Regions from separate parts of the Homo sapiens genome. Here regions 1, 3, 4, 5 and 6 are each linked to region 2. Evidence: promoter capture Hi-C in 16 types of primary human blood cells and fetal thymus (Javierre and others, 2016). All regions are on one chromosome and are shown on one strand. The core of a region is centred on a gene start or on the middle of the fragment in contact, and the rest is flanking DNA. Distances in the headings are between cores, read along the strand shown. Region 1 overlaps POLR3B (RNA polymerase III subunit B). Region 2 holds the start of RIC8B (RIC8 guanine nucleotide exchange factor B). Region 3 overlaps POLR3B (RNA polymerase III subunit B). Region 4 overlaps POLR3B (RNA polymerase III subunit B). Region 5 overlaps TCP11L2 (t-complex 11 like 2). Region 6 overlaps TCP11L2 (t-complex 11 like 2).

What was found. The method cuts DNA at HindIII sites, captures the fragments that hold promoters and counts their contacts. A CHiCAGO score of 5 or more calls a contact.
Region 1: a contact is called between a fragment that was not itself captured here and the fragment with the promoter of RIC8B in region 2, in 2 of 17 cell types (total CD4 T cells and naive CD4 T cells). The highest score is 5.5, in total CD4 T cells.
Region 3: a fragment that was not itself captured here is called in contact with the fragment with the promoter of RIC8B in region 2 in 1 of 17 cell types (naive CD4 T cells); the score reaches 5.0 in naive CD4 T cells.
Region 4: a contact is called between a fragment that was not itself captured here and the fragment with the promoter of RIC8B in region 2, in 6 of 17 cell types (activated CD4 T cells, total CD8 T cells, total CD4 T cells and 3 more). The highest score is 7.4, in activated CD4 T cells.
Region 5: a contact is called between a fragment that was not itself captured here and the fragment with the promoter of RIC8B in region 2, in 3 of 17 cell types (naive CD8 T cells, total CD8 T cells and fetal thymus). The highest score is 6.2, in naive CD8 T cells.
Region 6: a contact is called between a fragment that was not itself captured here and the fragment with the promoter of RIC8B in region 2, in 1 of 17 cell types (fetal thymus). The highest score is 5.3, in fetal thymus.

What each region holds. Positions count from the first base shown.
Region 1 is chr12:106,437,134-106,440,082 of GRCh38, forward strand. It overlaps POLR3B (RNA polymerase III subunit B), which reads left to right. Exons shown (of 28, transcript NM_018082.6): 18 at 548-646. Among named protein-coding and RNA genes, the nearest start is that of POLR3B, 81 kb to the left of the region's middle. The HindIII fragment of the contact is 4,381 bases long and covers 1-2,949 here.
Region 2 is chr12:106,773,331-106,776,157 of GRCh38, forward strand. RIC8B (RIC8 guanine nucleotide exchange factor B) reads left to right here and starts at 1,352. Exons shown (of 10, transcript NM_001330145.2): 1 at 1,352-1,499. The coding sequence starts at 1,416. LOC100287944 (a long non-coding RNA gene) reads right to left here and starts at 1,501. Exons shown (of 4, transcript NR_040246.1): 1 at 1,360-1,501. RefSeq lists enhancers at 501-1,052, 1,823-1,872 and a silencer at 1,263-1,492. The HindIII fragment of the contact is 11,909 bases long and covers 1-2,827 here.
Region 3 is chr12:106,482,512-106,485,520 of GRCh38, forward strand. All of the region lies in intron 23 of POLR3B (RNA polymerase III subunit B), which reads left to right. Among named protein-coding and RNA genes, the nearest start is that of RFX4, 99 kb to the right of the region's middle. The HindIII fragment of the contact is 1,821 bases long and covers 519-2,339 here.
Region 4 is chr12:106,360,114-106,362,931 of GRCh38, forward strand. All of the region lies in intron 1 of POLR3B (RNA polymerase III subunit B), which reads left to right. Among named protein-coding and RNA genes, the nearest start is that of POLR3B, 3.8 kb to the left of the region's middle. The HindIII fragment of the contact is 1,854 bases long and covers 587-2,440 here.
Region 5 is chr12:106,335,006-106,337,730 of GRCh38, forward strand. It overlaps TCP11L2 (t-complex 11 like 2), which reads left to right. Exons shown (of 10, transcript NM_152772.3): 7 at 634-821; 8 at 1,027-1,208. Among named protein-coding and RNA genes, the nearest start is that of POLR3B, 21 kb to the right of the region's middle. The HindIII fragment of the contact is 195 bases long and covers 1,324-1,518 here.
Region 6 is chr12:106,315,067-106,318,106 of GRCh38, forward strand. All of the region lies in intron 3 of TCP11L2 (t-complex 11 like 2), which reads left to right. Among named protein-coding and RNA genes, the nearest start is that of TCP11L2, 14 kb to the left of the region's middle. The HindIII fragment of the contact is 668 bases long and covers 1,000-1,667 here.

The sequences.
Region 1 (2,949 bases), core at 247-2,746, 340 kb before region 2:
AAGTAGCCAAAAGTAAAACTTACCAATCTCCTTAATACCCACATACATGATTTAAGAAAAGTGTATTTTCATTTTAGTGTTTTAATTTCTTTCCACCAAATTACCAGCCTGTTAAAAACCTATTTTGCTCCATGTGAACTTGCTTGGACATTGTAAAATATTCATCAATTTAGATCATGAGGGTTACCTAGTCTTGATGTCAGTTAGTACACAAGTAAGTGTTTCTGGTAAGAAAAGGACTTACATCATGTGTCAGTGTAGACACTGTGGGTCTCATTATGAGGTTTCTAAGGTCAGAATTTTTTTTTTAAGAAGTGGGGACTAGGTTCACAAGAGTTACAGACAGACACTTTGCTGTTTTTATTTCAGCAGTTTGTGGTTACTGTGTGAGCTAAGAATAACATGTTTCAGGTATCCCAATGTAATGATATTCTCTGGGAGAGAAAGGTGCTTTGGGCCTAAACGAAAGCCAGTATCTCCTGTTATTATATAAAATACTGCAGAAAAATGCTTTTTAATGATGTCTCTTTCACCAATATTTTCCCAGGAATTTTGAAGATTTCTTACATGAGAGTCTGGTTGAATATTTAGATGTGAATGAAGAAAATGATTGTAACATTGCACTGTACGAACACACAATTAATAAGTAAGTAGGATCCATAGCAACCATAATTAAAACGTGTTCTGACTATAGAAACTACCTTCTCTTTTACTGTCATCTTCAGTCCTTCTATCTTTTACTCTTTTGACAGGAACTGTTAGAAATATACAATCTTCTTTTTTTTGTTTGAACATGCAGGTTTGTTACATAGGTAAACGTGGGCCATGGTGGTTTGCTGTACCTATCAACCCATCACCTAGGTATTAAGCCCAGCATGCATTAGCTATTTATCTTGATGCTCTTCCTCCCCCAACCCCCTAACAGTCCCCCTGGTGTGTGTTGTTCCCCTCCCTGTGTCCATGTGTTCTCATTGTTCAGCTTCCACCTGTGAGTGAGAACATGCGGTGTTTGGTTTTCTGTTCCTGTGTTAGTTTGCTGAGGATGGCTTCCAGCTTCATCCATGTCTCTGCAAAGGACATGATCTTGTTCCTTTTTATGACTGCATAGTATTTCATGGTATATATGTATATTGTATATTTCTGTATGTACCATAAAGAAATATACAATTTTATAGCAGAGCATAACGCATCATTTATCCTAGTGAAGAGTATTACAAAGCAGCTAACAAGTCATCTTTAGATTTAATTATCCTTCCTATTCGTGTGACAGTTTATATATATACACACACACACTCATAGAAAGATATATCCATATATCCATATAGATAGATAACCATATATATATATGTATATAAAACCATATATATGTTTTTTTTTTTTTGAGACAAGGTCTTGCTCTGTCACCCTGAAGGAGTACAGTGGCACAACATAGCTCAGTGAAACTTAAAACTCCTGATCTCAAGTGATCCTCCCACTTCAGTCTCCTGAGTAGTTGGGATTACAGGCATGAGCCACCATGCCCAGCCTTAATGTGTATTTTTTAAAAGGAGTTGCTTCTCTGATTTTAATACTTGATTACTGCCAAAGTTGAACTAATGAATCAAGCTGTATAAAAATATACTTACCTCTGTTAGAGATGATTTTTGTCCATGGACATCTGAATTCTTGTCAGTGCAGGAATTCTCTACATAGTCTGTTCAAAAACTCTAAGTTTATGTGCAGTATGCACTTGAATTGGTAGTATGTTCACAATATTTCTTCTTGAACAATGATATTTTTAGAAGCATCTGTGTTCCATTTTAGAGTACATTAAAGAACATCTATGTAACTTGCTGTCTGATGCATGTGACTGATGTACCACTTACCTGAAATTGGAATTCTTGCAGATATATTGCTAGAGAGTTTAATACTACCACCTAATAACTATTTATGTCTTCAATCAAGAATAAGTACTTTTCTGACCCAGTGTAATGGCTCACCCCTATAATCCCAGTGCTTTGGGAGACTGAGGCAGGAGAATCGCCTGAGGCCAAGAGTTTGAGACCAGCCTGGACAACATAGCAAGACCCTATGTCTAAAAATAAAAATAAAAAATTAGCTGGACACAGTGGCACACACCTGTAGTCCTAGCTACTTGGGAGGCTGAGGTGGAAGGATCATTTGAGCCCAGGAGTTATGGGTTACACTGAGCTATGATTGTGCCACTGCACTCCAGCCTGGGTAAGAACCTATCTCTTAAAACAGGAAAAAGAAAAACTTTTCTGTTTTCTGCTACCAAATGAAATATATTACTTTTTAGAAGATTATAATTTACCAGCCTGGGTAACATGGCAAGACCCCGTCTCTACAAAAAACTTAAAAATTAGCCAGGTGTGGTGATGTACGCCTGTAGTCCCAGTAACTCAGGGGGCTGAGGCTAGAGGATTGCATGAGTCCAGGAGGTGGAGGCTCTGTGAGCCATGTTCATGCCACTGCACTCCAGCCTGGGTGACAAAGCAAACCCTGTTGCCAATATATATATTGCAAATATATATATTTTTTGCACTTTGTAAATAGTGGTTTTTGGTCAGAATTTTTCTTCCTTAAAGATGTGAATCTCTCAAAGTGCTATTTTATACCCCTCATTTCAAAATTGACTGAGGGCCAGGTGTGGTGGGTCACACCTATAATCCCAGCAATTTGGGAGGCTAAGGCATGAGGGTTGCTGGAGCTCAGGAGTTTGAGATCAACCTGGGCAACACAGTGAGACCTCATCTCTACTAAAAATAAAAAAAAGTTAGCCAAGTGTTGTGGTGTGCACCTATGATCCCAGCTACTTGGGAGGCTGAGGTGGAAGGATCACTTGAGCACAGTTTGAGGCTGCAGTGAGCTATACTTGGAACACCACTGCATTCCAGCTTGGGCGAGAGAGTGAGACCCTTACTCAAAAAAAATATAGATATAGATATG
Region 2 (2,827 bases), core at 102-2,601:
TGGGTGCTCACTAGAATGGAAGCTCCATGAAGGCAGGGACTTTACTTTGGGCCCACTGTATCCACACTGCATTTAACAGCACCTGGGCACAGCACAGGCTCTCAAATATTTGTTGAATGAATGTGTATGAAATTGATTGAGCTAACACAGGTGAAGTATTAACAGAGTGCCTGACACGTAATTACCACCGGGGCAATGGGAATCTTTGTCATCACCACCACCGCTACTGTATCGGTATTATTACAGTTCCCGGAGGTCGTAGAGCGGCCGCTTCGGGGGGAAAGGCCTGGTTTCAAACCTCGACTTTCCCATTCTCTGGCCGTGTGACTTAGGATAAATTACTGAAACTATTCGGGTTCCTTTTTATTTCCACAAAAATTTGTGTTGGGAGAATTAGAGGATATAGGGAAATTACCTAAGAGAGTCTGGAGCCCCGGTGGCACGAGATGCATGCTAGAGATTAGTATTAAGGCAGAAAATCGCCGAGTCCTCTTTTATCCAGATAACTGCCTTCAATTATTTCCCACATTACTGTAGCTGAGTACATAACAAGAACGCAAATAAGGGTGGAAGGAATTCCCGAGACCGAAACCGCTAAATGAGAAAAGGGAATTAAACCGTGCTTGACAGTTCCCACCAAGGGATGGCAGTTTCCGCGACCGTCGGCCAGTCCAGCCAGCCCAGCCAGCCGAGACTGAAGCAGGACAGTCAGCGACATAACGAACAAAACCGAAGCAGACGCTTAGACCCTCCCTCTAACGGTCTCCCCGCCGCTGGCCTCAGGCGGCCGCCAGACTCCCGTTTCCGGCCCTCGCGGTACCACAGTTCCCAGCATGCCCTTGGCGGGAATTCTTTCCGGCTGGATGACTACCAATCCCAGCATGCCATTCGGCACGCCAGTAAATTAGATGGAAGAGCGGGATAGCCCCATTGCATGCAGGGAATTGCAGTCCATTTAGCGGCTGGTTCATAGATGGGCGGGGAAGAGCCGGGTTGCTCTAGTCCTTTGAGAATGATTCATAGAGGAGGGTCAGGAAAGAAGAACGGTTCAGTCTGTGAAAGCCCCCTTAAAAGACTGGACAGTTCTCCGAGGGAGGGAGAGGCAGGAGAGCAAGCAGGGCCTTGGGCCTGACTCCGCCTCGGTCCGCTAGCCAGGCCTCGACCGAGTCCTGGGCCTTGTCAGGGGCGGCCGTGAGGCGCCGGTTGCTGGGGGAGCGGTGACGTCGCGGGGTGAAAGTTGAGGGGCGGTGACGTCGGGCCGGCCCGGGCGGAGGCTGGCGGGTTGGAGGCAGGACGGAGGGAGGGAAAGAGGGAAGGAAGGAAGCTGGGAAGGAGCGAGCGGGGGCGCGAGGCGTTTACCTGGAGGCAGCGGCTTGGGCGCGCAGAGCGGCCGCGGCTCCCCCGCACCTGCGGCCATGGATGAGGAGCGCGCCCTCTACATCGTCCGGGCCGGCGAAGCAGGGGCTATCGAGCGGGTCCTGAGGGATTACAGCGACAAGGTAAAGAGTCCTGGCCCCGGGCGTGCGGTATCGCACCCCCGGGCCGCCCTCCGTGCTTGCACATCGCATCCTTCCCCACCCCCCTCATTCCGGGGATGCGCATTGCTCTCCCCCGAAAACGTTTCCGGCTTGGGCATGCGTGTTTGTGCCCCCAGCCTTTTCCATCCATGCATCCTGCATCCCACTACCCCCACTGTAGCGCCCACTCCTCTGATTCCTGGCCCAGCAGCTTGACCTCCGGTCCTCCTCTCAAGCGTGCAAGTCACACCCCCGGAATCCGTAGATGTGCATCTGTGCCCCGTGCCCCACTCCTGGATGCATAAATGCATGAGAGGCTTCCTCACCTGTATAGCATAAAAATACGTGCTTCCCTGCATAAACACGGCCCTTGACATGCATCAAATGTATCAGCAACGATGGCAGTTTCTATACGTTTAGCACTGTACGGTTTTCAAGGCATTGATGTCTCATCTATGGTCTCCTTTGATCCTCAGAGTGTTTATAGGGTAGATGGTATCATCCTCCCCATTTTATAGATGAGGAAACCGAGGTGCAAAGAGCTGAAATCACGCCCAAGGTCATGGACATATAATGTTGTAAGTGGGTGGAGAATGTAACTCCTAATGATACCTGTTATTTGTATCGCATTAACAGCTTTCCTATCCATTATCTTATTTAATCTTACAGCAATCCTGTGAGGTATTATCTGCATTTTGCAATTGAGACTCTAGATTGGTTAAGTAACTTGCCCAAGGTCATACTTGGAGCTGGTATTCCAGTTTAGTTCTTTCCACTTCACAACTCTGCGTAAAAGAGTATCTTGTTATAAATCCCAGTCACTTCTCAGAACCTCTTTCCAAGAACCGTTAGCTCTTCATTACTTTTCCTTCCAGGAATTTTACATGCTCACTTCAAAAGATAGCCTACCACACCTTTATCCTTTGGTTTAGAAGACTGCTTTATAGGAATGACTGGCGACTCCCTTCTGTGAAAACACACCCAACACCAAGTCACAACCTAGCTGTTAATGTTTTTCTTTCTTTTGCCCCCGTACATCGTCTCCCCTTCAGTGTTTGCTTTGTGTCCACCACTGCATCCATCCACTTTGTATTACTGACAATTGGTGTCTTATTTTTGAATCTTTTCCACCCGGGGCAGAAATGGCATACTGGTGGCTGAATTCCCGTTTAATCTTCCCAACAACCCTGGGAGGAGAGTGATGGTATTCCCCAATTCACAAATGATAAAATTTAGAATGATAATGTGGTCCCAAGTCCACACAGCCACTGAGAGATAGAGCTGAGATTTGAATTTACGTTGTCCAACTC
Region 3 (3,009 bases), core at 179-2,678, 290 kb before region 2:
AAGGGGGAGGTGCTACACACTTTAAAACAACCAGTTCCTGTGAGAACTCACTCACTATCATGAGAACAGCGAGGGGGGAATCCACCTCATGATCCAATCTCCTCCCACCAGGTTCTTCCTCCAACACTGGGGATTTGACACGAGATTTGGGTGGGGACACAAATCTAAACCATATCACTTAGGTAAGTATATTTTAGGTTCGTTGAGATTAGGAAACATGCCCTGCTGATTTACTTAACCCCAAAGCACCCAGCATAGCACTTTGCATATAATATGGTATCCACTTATGATGTTTGAGGAATCCTTTATTAAATAAAGGATTTTACATATTCATTGGTCTTGTTGGAAATTGTACTGACATAACAAGCCAAACTCACTACTCCCAGAATAAGTGTAATTTATTCTTCCTAGTAAATATCAGAAATGAGATGCCTCATTTTTATCTAAACTGGCACCAGGAGTTTCAACACCTAAGACTCATAGCTCCCCAACCCTAACTGATCACACAGGCCCACTAAAGCTTCTTCAGCCATAATAACTAAATATAGTTATCCCTCAGTATATGCTGGGAATTGGTTCCAGGACCCCTGCATATATTCAAGTCCCACAGTTGGGCCTGTAAAACCCAAATATATGAAAAGTTGTCCCTCTGTGGAGAAGGGCTCACATTCCGCAAATGCTGTATTTTCGATTCATATCTCATTGAAGAAAAATCCCCATATAAGTGGACCTGCACAGTTAAGACCTGTGTTATTCAAGGGTCAACTGTATACATGCCCACCCACGTCCATCCCAGGCACAAATGAGAACCTGCCTTGACAGCCCCAGGGAAACCTATTCGGTCATTTTTAAGTTACTGTTGTGGGCTCAAAACTGTGTGGGGCACTTTAGGGGATAGAAAGTAAATTAATCCCTTGACTAATGCCCATGAGGAGTTGACTGACACCTGAAGCAAAAAGATGGATACGAAGGATTACATAGTTAAATGCTAAATTATATGGGAGAAACCACTAAAAATATAGAGGTTTAGAGTTTACCATAGATAGGAATAGAATCTTAGAGTTTGAAAAGTCCTTTTAGAAGTCCAGTCTAAATCCATCTTCTAGTATAAGAGTTCTTTTTAGATTATCTTTGGCAGATGGTTTTCCATGTTGATTGTGGCCTGTGAAGGGAGGCCCTTGCTATTTTCTGAGGCAGCCTCTTCTGTAGTAGCACTGCTCTGATAGTTTTCTTGAGTCAGAGGTGCTCAAGAGTTAGTAAGAGTGCTCAAGAGTCTATAAGTTACTGCAGTTAGTCCTGCCTTGTCTTGTGGGCCATACTGAATGAACATATTGCCTTTTCATCACAGCCATCCTCTGTTCAGTATTTAAAGAAAGCCCTCGGATTGACGAAAAGTATAGCAGAGAGAGAAAGGTCTTGAACTCCAACTAGGTGAACTATTTTGTCCCTTTATGTCTTGGCCTCCTTGATACTAATGTGTAAAAGCAGGGAACACAGTGCCTGATGCACAGACAGGAGGCAGTAAAGGTGAGCTGCGGGCAGGTCTGTCTTGGGTCTTCTCTTGCAGGCTGCCTGGTAAAGGAAGCCCTCAGAGACTAGATGGGGTTCAGGCTTAGAGGGCTTTGATAAAGATGTGAAAGAAAAACAGGGGGCAGCAGAGAAGAGCAAATGAATGGACTTGACTGACTGAAATAAAGACAGCATAAAGAAGAAAAACCACGGGGACTGTGGTTTTAATCCGGTAAACGATGGCACCAATCACAAAGCATTTGTGTCTCACTGACTTGAGATGGTGAGATGATGGAAGATCATCTCGAGTGCCTATATTGTTGATTAATTCATCCATTTATTGAGCTTTCACTGTGTGCCAAGCACTGTTCTAAATACTGGAAATACAGAGGTAAACAAGACTGATGGGGTCTCTGTTCTCCCGGGATTTGTGTTCTCCTTGGGGAGGAAACAGACAAAAAAGAAGTAAACAAAAATATAAACCCCAACTACTTAGTAGGCTGAGGCAGGAGGATCACTTGAGCCCAGGAGTTTGAGACCAGCCTGGGCAGTATAGCAAGACTCCATTTCAAGAAAAAAAAGTGTAAACAAAAATATAAACAGGATAATTGAAGGTAATGATAAGTGCCATATATGAAGAATGATATAAAAGAGTGGATGGTTTAGAGGTGGGGGTGTGTACTTTAGATTACGATCAGGAACAGCCTCTCGGAGGAAGCGACATTGAGCTGAGACACGAAGGATACAAAGGAGCCAGCCGAGCAAAAGTCTGGGAGGATTTAGTTATAGGCAGAGAGAATCATTAGGGTAAGAGTTCTGAGGCACGAATAAGCTTGGTATATTCAAGGAACAGAAAAAAGGCCAGTCTGGCCAGGCATATGCCTGACAAGCAGCACAGTATGAGACTTGGGGAGTGACAGAAGGATGATGGGGGCATATCCTATAGGGCCTTTTGGCTAAAAGAAAGGAGATTGGACTTTACTCCAGATATGCTGGGAACCAACAGAACCGTTGGATGGTGGGTGTCTTGGTCCATTTTCTGCTGCTATGACAAAATACCACTGACTGGATAATTTATAAAGAAAAGAAGTTTATTTGGCTTATGGTTCTAAAGACTTGGAAGTGGAGGAGCGTGGCACCAGCATCTGGAGAGGATCATCCCGTGGCAGACAGGCAGAGGGGCAGGAGAGCTTGCTTTTATAACCAAACCAGTCCTGAGATAAGTAACCCAAGTCTGTAATAATGGCATTAATCCATTCATGGGAATGGAGTCCTTATGACCTAACCACCTCTTAAAGGCCCCATATCAATTAAATCTCAACATGAGTTTTTGTGGGTACATACAAACCATAAAAATGAATATAAGCAAAGGAGTGACGAGATCTAACTTACAACTTCTAGAGCTCACTGTGGATTCTATATGAAAAGTGGATTGGAACGGGCAAGGAAGGGGGCAGGGAGACCATTGCAGTGGTCCAGGCAAGAAAGGGTGGTGGCTTG
Region 4 (2,818 bases), core at 264-2,763, 410 kb before region 2:
GAACGACTGTCCTCTCTTACTTCCTAACTGGCCTACCTGGCACCTGACTTGTCCCAATCCAGTCTGTTCCTTGCTCTGCAGCCAGAGCTGTCCGTTTAAACACACAAACATGGTTATGTTGCTCCCTTGGTTAAAGTTCTTCAATCTCTGCCTATTGCTCTTAGGGCAAAATCTAGTGTTTACCATGTTTGTAATAAATTTCCTCAGTCTGACCAGTGCTTACTTCTCTAGTCTCTTTTCCCATGGTTCCCCCCTCTCCCTCCCCTGAGATCTTTCTACTCTGCTCAGTTTCTTCTGGATCGCTCTCCCCTTCCTATTTGTAGATTAAATCCCACATATCTATAATATAACTTCCCTAGGAAGGCCTTTCCTGATTCTCCCAGAAGATGGTAGATCTCTGCTACTTGCTGCCATTTCCTTTTAAATTGAGATATTAAAATATTTACTTAAACTTTCCAACTTCAGTGTTTTCGCTGCAACTTTTTCTAGTTAGGAGCTCAGTTTTACTTGAACTGGCCATGCCTGGTGTGTATTTTTTTGTGCTTATGGTAGCACAGCAGCATGGTAGTATGGTAGAAACAACACAAGCTTTGGAGCCAATTAATCAGTTACTTGTTGAATAAATATTTGTCAGTGTTACTGAGTACTTACCTGGTGGTGTATTATTCACAGGGTTTATACAAGTTCAAAAAATGTGTTTTCTGCCTCCCAGTGTGTTATAGGCTTATAGAGAGAGACGTGTAAGCAAGTGGAATAACATGCAATAGGTACTGTGATACAAGTAGGCGAGGGGTATTTTGGTATTACAAATGGTAGCTAGGATGTGATGCCTGAACTGAGTTTGCCAGATGTGGATGAAGTGTGGTGGTGCGGAAGCATTCCAGATAGAAGGAGGAGGCGTAGGCACAAGTACAGCTGCAAGCACAGCATATGATGTATGCCTCGCTGTGGAGTTAAGACATGGTGAAGAGGGTGGGGAGGCACTGAAGAGTTGTAGAGAATGAGGTGCTCAGCTGTGCACATGAGGACATGTACACTGGCTTTAGTGCTGAGCATTGAAAGGGACGAGCAGGAAGAGTAGTAAGGAAGTATTGCCGCAGACCAGCTGAAAGATTATGAGGGCCTCAACTGGCACAGGAGCAGAGGATAAATGCGAGGAAGGTTAAAAGGAGGTCGACTCAGTAGAATTTTTGTTTTCCTGTTGATTAAGAAGAGTCAGAAAGTTAGGACTCCCGGGTATCTAATTTGGGATTGACTGGGATAAATGGTGATATTCATTGAGATTGAGAATGGAGCTGGGGGAAGATTTAATTTTGGACATACTGATCTTAAGTAGCCTCTGAGGCTGTAAGGTATCACTGCCCAGTCAATAGTTGGAGGGGACAGGCCCATACCCAGTAGCTTACTGCAACAGTGATATTCACTCACTCATTTATTTATTCAGTATTTATTGGAGTCTTTTATGTGCCAGGCACTGTGGTAACAGGATAGACAGGGTCACTGCCCTTGAAAGAGCCCACATTTGGAACTGGGGGGCTGTGGGATGAGATGGGGGAAGCTAAACAACACTTTCAAACAGTGTTGTTTGAAATCCTCCATTCCCAGCCCTACTTGAGAAAAGACATCGCCAGGGATAGAACTTTGAAGAACACCAAAATTTGCAGGGTGGCAGAGAAAAAGAGGTGTGACAAGGCCCGGCCGGAGGAAGGAAAGACATAAGAGAATGATACCACAGAGTGTTATAAGACAGTGATCGGCATGGCCAAATACTGTGGAAAGGGAATGTGAGGGGGCATCAAGGGAGGTCTTTTGAAGTAGCAGCCTTGGTGACCTCTGTCGAGCTCTTTCACTGGCAGGTAGGTCAGAGTCCTGACTATAACGGAATGAAGGAGTGGGAAGTGAGGAACAGAGAAGCTAAATATGGAGTAATTTGGGAGAGATCGTAAGCTGAAGGGCAGGGAAGAAAGTAGTCAGAGGAGCTGCTGAGTCAAGAAAGTTTTAAATTTTTTTTTTAATGGGAGGATTTGAATACTCGTTTTAAATAGAACAGGTTGAATATCAAGGACTGAACTGGGGCAAGGTTTCCAGTCTTCAGGAGAAGGTTGGCAGGATTGTGTCTGTGGCGGAAGGGTTAGCCTTAGACCAAGGAATGGATGGTCCTTCCTTTGAAGTGGGAGGAAACGAGTATAAGAAGGGGTGTAGAGAGAGGAATTTGAAGATGTGGGAGTATTAGCTCATAGGGCTGCCGTAACAAAGTAACCACAAACTAGGTGGCTTAAACAACAGAAATTTGTTTTCTCATAGTTCTGGAAGTTAGAAGTCTGAGATCAGGGTGACAACAGAGCTGGCTCCTTCTGAGGGCTATGAGAGAGGATCTGCTCTGGGCCGTCCCCTACTACAGGTGTTTGCTGGCAATCTTTGGCATCCCTTGGCTTGCAGAAGCTTCACTGAGACCTCTACCTTCATCTTCACATGGCATTGTCCCTGTGTGCATCTCTATGTCCAATTTCTCCTTTTTTATAAGGACACCAGTTGTATTGGATTAGGGCTCACCTTAATGACTCATTTTACTTAATCACCTTTGTCAAGACCCCATCTTCAAAAACAGTCACATTCTGAGATACTGGGGATTAGGACTTTAGCATATGAATTTTGAGAGGGACACAATTCAACCTATATCATTGTCATTCTTCTATTTTTAAATTTAGGTGTAATTTATATAATAAAATGTATGGATACTAGATATTCAGTTACATTGGTTTTATAGTTATGTGCTCTATGTGGACATTGCATCACCCCAGAAAGTTCCCTTATGACC
Region 5 (2,725 bases), core at 171-2,670, 440 kb before region 2:
AACCTGGGGACTGTCAATCTGGTAAGAGAGAATGACAATTGTTTGTGGACATGTGCACGTGATTGTGCACATTCACTTTGGGAAAGGCATATCTCCAATTAGTTATTAAAAGTGGTCCAAGACCCAAAAATGTGTAATAATTATACTCTATTTTCTCTTCAGATTGTATAAATCTTTCACCTTTTACCAAAAATGTGTGAAAATTAATGCCTTTTCTCTAAATACCTTCTCTGCACAAACTCAAGGCTGGCTTCTAACCACCCATCCAATGCCATTTGCTACAACCCTCTTACCCCTAGTTCTTTATGGACCAGCAATACAGATTTGTTTGTGGCATCCAGAATGTGACATCTAGAATGTGCCATATGCTGTCTTTTCCAGAGCACTTACAGAGCTCTTCCTCTTAGATTCTTTCCTGGACAGCCTCTTTCCCACAATTACTAGCATTCATTGTACTCTGTTATAATTGTTAGTTTACAGGTCTGCCTTTCCATCTGGACTGTAAACTCCTTGCAGGGCATGGCTGTGTCTTCTCATTCATGCCCAGCACCCAACACAGCATCTGTCAAGTGGAATACACCAGTGAAGGGATCAATCAGCTGTAGAACAAATATGTGGCCTTTTCACTCTTAGGTGCTCTTGATCAGACTACAGAATGGATAAAAGAATCTGTAAATGAAGAATTATTTTCTCTTTCTGAGAGTGCTTTAACTCCTGGGGCCGAAAATACCTCCAAGCCAAGCCTGAGCCCTACTTTGGTGCTAAATAATAGTTACTTGAAACTGTTACAGTGGGATTATCAGAAAAAAGAATTACCAGAGGTGAGTGGTTTTGTTCTTCACCCAAATTTCCCAGTATTTTTATTCTTAAGTTCTAACTTTGAATCATCTGGTCTGTGTTTCATGTGGTTTAATGACTTTACAAAAATCAGATAAAAATGGGAATTTGGAAATGACATTGCCTGTTTTGTATTTTCATGCTATTGAGCTACCCTTTCTATTTTTATATTTTAAATAAATATGTTAGACACTTATGACAGATGGAGCACGTCTTCAGGAACTAACAGAAAAGCTGAATCAATTGAAAATTATTGCCTGCCTGTCCCTAATTACCAACAACATGGTGGGTGCTATTACAGGAGGCCTGCCTGAGCTTGCAAGCAGGTTAACAAGGATTTCAGCTGTTCTACTTGAAGGCATGAACAAAGAGTAAGTTCCAAATTTTTGCATCTGCTCCCTCTTGTATTAAGGCTCTGCATGTGTCTCAGAGAACAAGAATGACCTTGGACATCTGGATGTGAGATTCAGGACTGTGCTTTAGAGAAGCTTATCTTACACCTTTTTCTAGAATTTCCTTTAATATCTCTGAAGGCTTAGATGTCCTCTCATAGGAAGGGAGAGGTGTTTTCCATGACAAGTGCCAGGGTGAGTGTAGTATTTCCACTTACAATGAATGTGTACAACAGCTTTTCTTTGACAGTGCTTTGGAAAAAAACAAATGAAACACAGAAATCTGCCAAGCTTGATGTTTAGAATTGCGCAATTTTTTTTTTTTTTTTTTTTTTTTGAGACAGAATCTCGCTCTGTCACCAGGCTGGAGTGCAGTGGCGCAATCTCAGCTCACTGCAACCTCCGCCTCCCGGGTTCAAGCAATTCTTCTGCCTCAGCCTCCCAAGTAGCTGGGACTACAGGCATGCGCCGCCACGCCCAGCTAATTTTTGTATTTTTAGTAGAGACCGGGTTTCACCATGTTGGCCAGGATGGTCTCGATCTCTTGACCTCATGACTCACCCATCTCGGCCTCCCTAGAATTGTGCTATTGAAGAGGGCTTTCCTCCAGTTGTTCTGACTTCATCATTTTTCTGCAGTGAAATGTTTACTGACTTCACAAATCCACCTTGCTACGAAGTCTTCAGAAGTGCTGACAATTCTGCCCTTCAGAGATGTGACACAGTCCAGTGAAGATTTTGGTTTTTGCTAAATTTATCTCCAGTATTACACCTTCATGAATGCTAGAATCCCATTTAGATTTTGCATTTACATCATCCAATAGGAATTCCTATCTAAGTCAGAAATTCTTAGTCTTGGTGAATGGCCAGATGGTTCTATGGGTCTCTTATGGATCAGCTTCTGCTGGTTCCCCTTTCAGGTGTCTTCAGAGGCATGTCCTCTTTATTCCTGTAATTGAAGGGAAATGCACCTGTCTTCTCATCCTCCCACCTATTATTCAGAGAGCATATAAATTACTTGATGAAATCCTAGACTATTAAGAGCCAAAAGGAGCCCATGTAGTTACAGAATCCAACTTCTCATTTTGAACTGAAGCTTACAGATAGAATAGAATTTGCCTTGGGCTGCAAACAGAAAAGGGCAGACCAAGGACTGAGCCCTGATCTGACCTTTCTCCTGATTCTGATGCTCATTAATATTCCAGGACCAAGACCTATAATGAAAGGAAACCTCTGATTTTGCAGTTGGTCTTATCTTATGATTTCCCTGCATGGGTAGTCATTACTTTCCAGAAACTTTTATTTATTAAGCCTTTAGGGAATACCCAGTGCTGCTGAAATGTTATTATAAAGTATACAGAAAGTGGTTACTAAGAAGACAGGCTTTCGGGTCAGATGGACCAGGGTTTAAATCCCAGCTCTGCTACTGACTTATTATGAACACTTGAATATGTTCTCAAATTACTATGAGCCTGACTTCCTCACTTGTAAGAAGGG
Region 6 (3,040 bases), core at 84-2,583, 460 kb before region 2:
TCTACTAAAAACACAAAAATTAGCCGGCCATGGTGGTGGGGCGCGTGTAATCCCAGCTACTTGGGAGGCTGAGGCAGGAGAATTGCGTGAACCCAGGAGGTGGAGGTTTCAGTGAGCCGAGATCGCACCACTGCACTACAGCCTGCGCAACAGAGTACTCCGTCTCAAAAAACAAAAACAAAAACAAACAAACAAAAAAATTCCCCTAGGATACATATTACCCATAATCTTTAGAACTCAGTTTATATGTCACTTCCTGAGGGAAGCTTTTTCTGACATTGGTGAACCCCCTAGACTACAATTAATCCCTTTGCTACAGACACCTGTAGCCCTTGCTGCCTCCTTTTTGTTAAGAGGTCTTATAATTTTATGTTTGATGTCCATCTTCCCCACTTGATTGAAATGCACTATTTATGGAGGAGCTATGTCTGTATTGTTTGTTGCTGTATCCCTATTGTCTAGCATAGTGCCTGACATACAGTACAGGCTCAAGACATATTTGCACATTGATTTATGGAAAACTGATACTCAGGTTCTGAAGAATAAATAAATGCACCTGAACTGTCAAAGTGCTAAAAGCAGGCAATCCAGAAATGTCTGGAGGTAGGAATCACAGCTGCAAGAGGCACTTCCTGGTTAACCTCGCCCTCCGACCTCTAGTTGGAGCCACCCCTTTGGATCCTACTTCAGCCTTTCTGGAGTCAGTGGCTCACAGGTTTCCTGAGACAAAGAGAAGAGGCTTGAGACTATTATTACAGATCAGTCGTCTTTAGAAGCAAAGTTGGTTCGTGGATTGAATTTTCAACCTTACAGTACCAATTATAAATCCTGAGGCATTCTATCAGTTAAGACAACTTAGAATATTTGATCCCATTCAGAACTTTTTCATTTGTTTTAAAGCAGGAAAAGTAAAGGAAGTCAATGTAATAACTCTTCTTCTTTAAAATGTGGATCATAGTCCTCTTGGGGATGTTGTTCATTTAATATTAACATTTTTTAAGCTTGCCATGTATCGTGGGTGTATCTGTTTGGTTTCCTTTGGTAACTTGCATTTTGCCATGACCCTTGATACCAGCTCTACTGCTACAGCCCTAGGCTAGGCCACCGTCATCTGTGGCCTGGACCCTTTCAGTCCTAACTGGTTGCCGTGTCTCCTTTCTTAGCCCCCAACAGTTCATCTTCCATATCCAGTAGCCTTAATGATGTTTTTAAAGAATGAGCTATATTAGATGATTTCTTTGCCAAAAACTCTTCAATGGTTTTCACTTACTCAGAGACCAAAAATCTAAGCATTTTCCTATGGCCTGGATGGCCCCACTCCCCTGACCCCATCTCAGTGCTGTCCCTCCTGCTTGCTGTGCTTCAGCCACACTGGCTTCCTTCCTTACCTCAGGGTTCACCAATCTGGATCTTGTCTCATAAACTTTGTTCCTCTGACTTCTTCTTTTTGAATGTTCTTTTCCCAGACCTTCACATGGCTCTTTGCTCTCCCCTTCTGAGTCTGAACACAAAGGTCACTGACTTAAAGAGGCTTTTTCCCACCATCCAGTGAAATCAGCACCCTCTCTGTAACTGTGTACCACATTGTCTTATTCTTTCTCATAGGTCTGAAATTGTCGTATTCATTTTTAATGTATTTTTTGCCTTTTTGTCCCTGCTAACATATAAGCTTTTTGAGGTCAGAGACTTTCTTTTCACTGTAGTATTCCCAGTTCCTAAAACAGGGCCCTACACATATTGGATGTTTAATAAACATTTATTGACTAATACAAATGAATTTTTTGAGATGGAGTCTTGTTTTAAAGTTAAAATTTGTATTTTTTATGAGGTAAAGCAAAAGACAGGGCATATCTGTACTTTAAATTCAAAAGTGGCGAGTACAGGCCATAGTGAAGGCATTTTAGGCTCAGACAGACTGTGGGGTTTGAATCCTGGCTTTGCTGAGACCATACCTGAACCTCACACTTCCCAAGAATAAGAAGGGGGCTACACTACTCACTTCAAATGCATACTCACTAGCATAAAAGTGCCTTGCACATAAATACTTTGATACTATGGAAAATATTAATCTCTCTTCCCTTCAGTTTCTGCCATGGCTAGAAAATGTGAGCAAGGGAAACAAAGTACAGAGTTAGGACACATTGCCTTTGTTTAAAGATAAAGTCTTAGCCGGGCGCAGTGGCTCACACCTGTAATCCCAGCACTTTGGGAGGCTGAGGTGAGCAGATCACCTGAGGTCAGGAGTTTAAGACCAGCCTGCCCGACGTGGTGAAACCCTGTCTCTACTAAAAGTACAAAAATTAGCTGGGTGTGGCAGTGCATGCCTGTAATCCCAGCTACTTGGGAGGCTGAGGCATGAGAATCACTTGAACCTGGGAGGCGGAGGCCGCAGTAAGCTGAGACTGCGCCACTGCACTGCAGCCTGGGCGACAGAGTGAGACTCTGTCTCAGAAAAAAAGAGATATACTTATCAAATTATGAATTCATTCACCATGCATGCATTTGTTAAGCAGTCACTATATATCAGGCACTGTACTAGGCACAATGGTAAGTACCTACCTGGAGGACTTATGGCCTCTGCTTAGGAAAGGTATATAGCTCTGTGGGGAAAGAGCCTCGTCAGTAATTACAGTGGAGGGACATGTGGTTTTCTAAAAACTATTGCTAAATGGTAGAGAAGTTAGGTAGGAATGTGTATTTTAACGTGCACCTATTTTAAGGGATTGACATAAGGGGTGAAGCAAGGTGGCCAATTATTCTATTGTGAGCTCTTCCTAGGAAGGCTTCTATTTCACCAGTTTGGTCTGGCTAACTTTAAATGGGACACCTAAGTCTGAAGTTGGCAGGCATTCAAATGCATGTGCCCTTGGGGCCAATCTGTTCTATTCCATGCCATGAAATTTCAGCTGGTGAGGAAGAGCAACTTTGCCATCTCATCCCAAAAATGTAGAACAAGTCTAAAGATCTATATAGAAGGGTAGCTACATAAATTATGAAATCTCTTTAGGACAGAATTTCATGAAGTTATTGAAAGCATTTT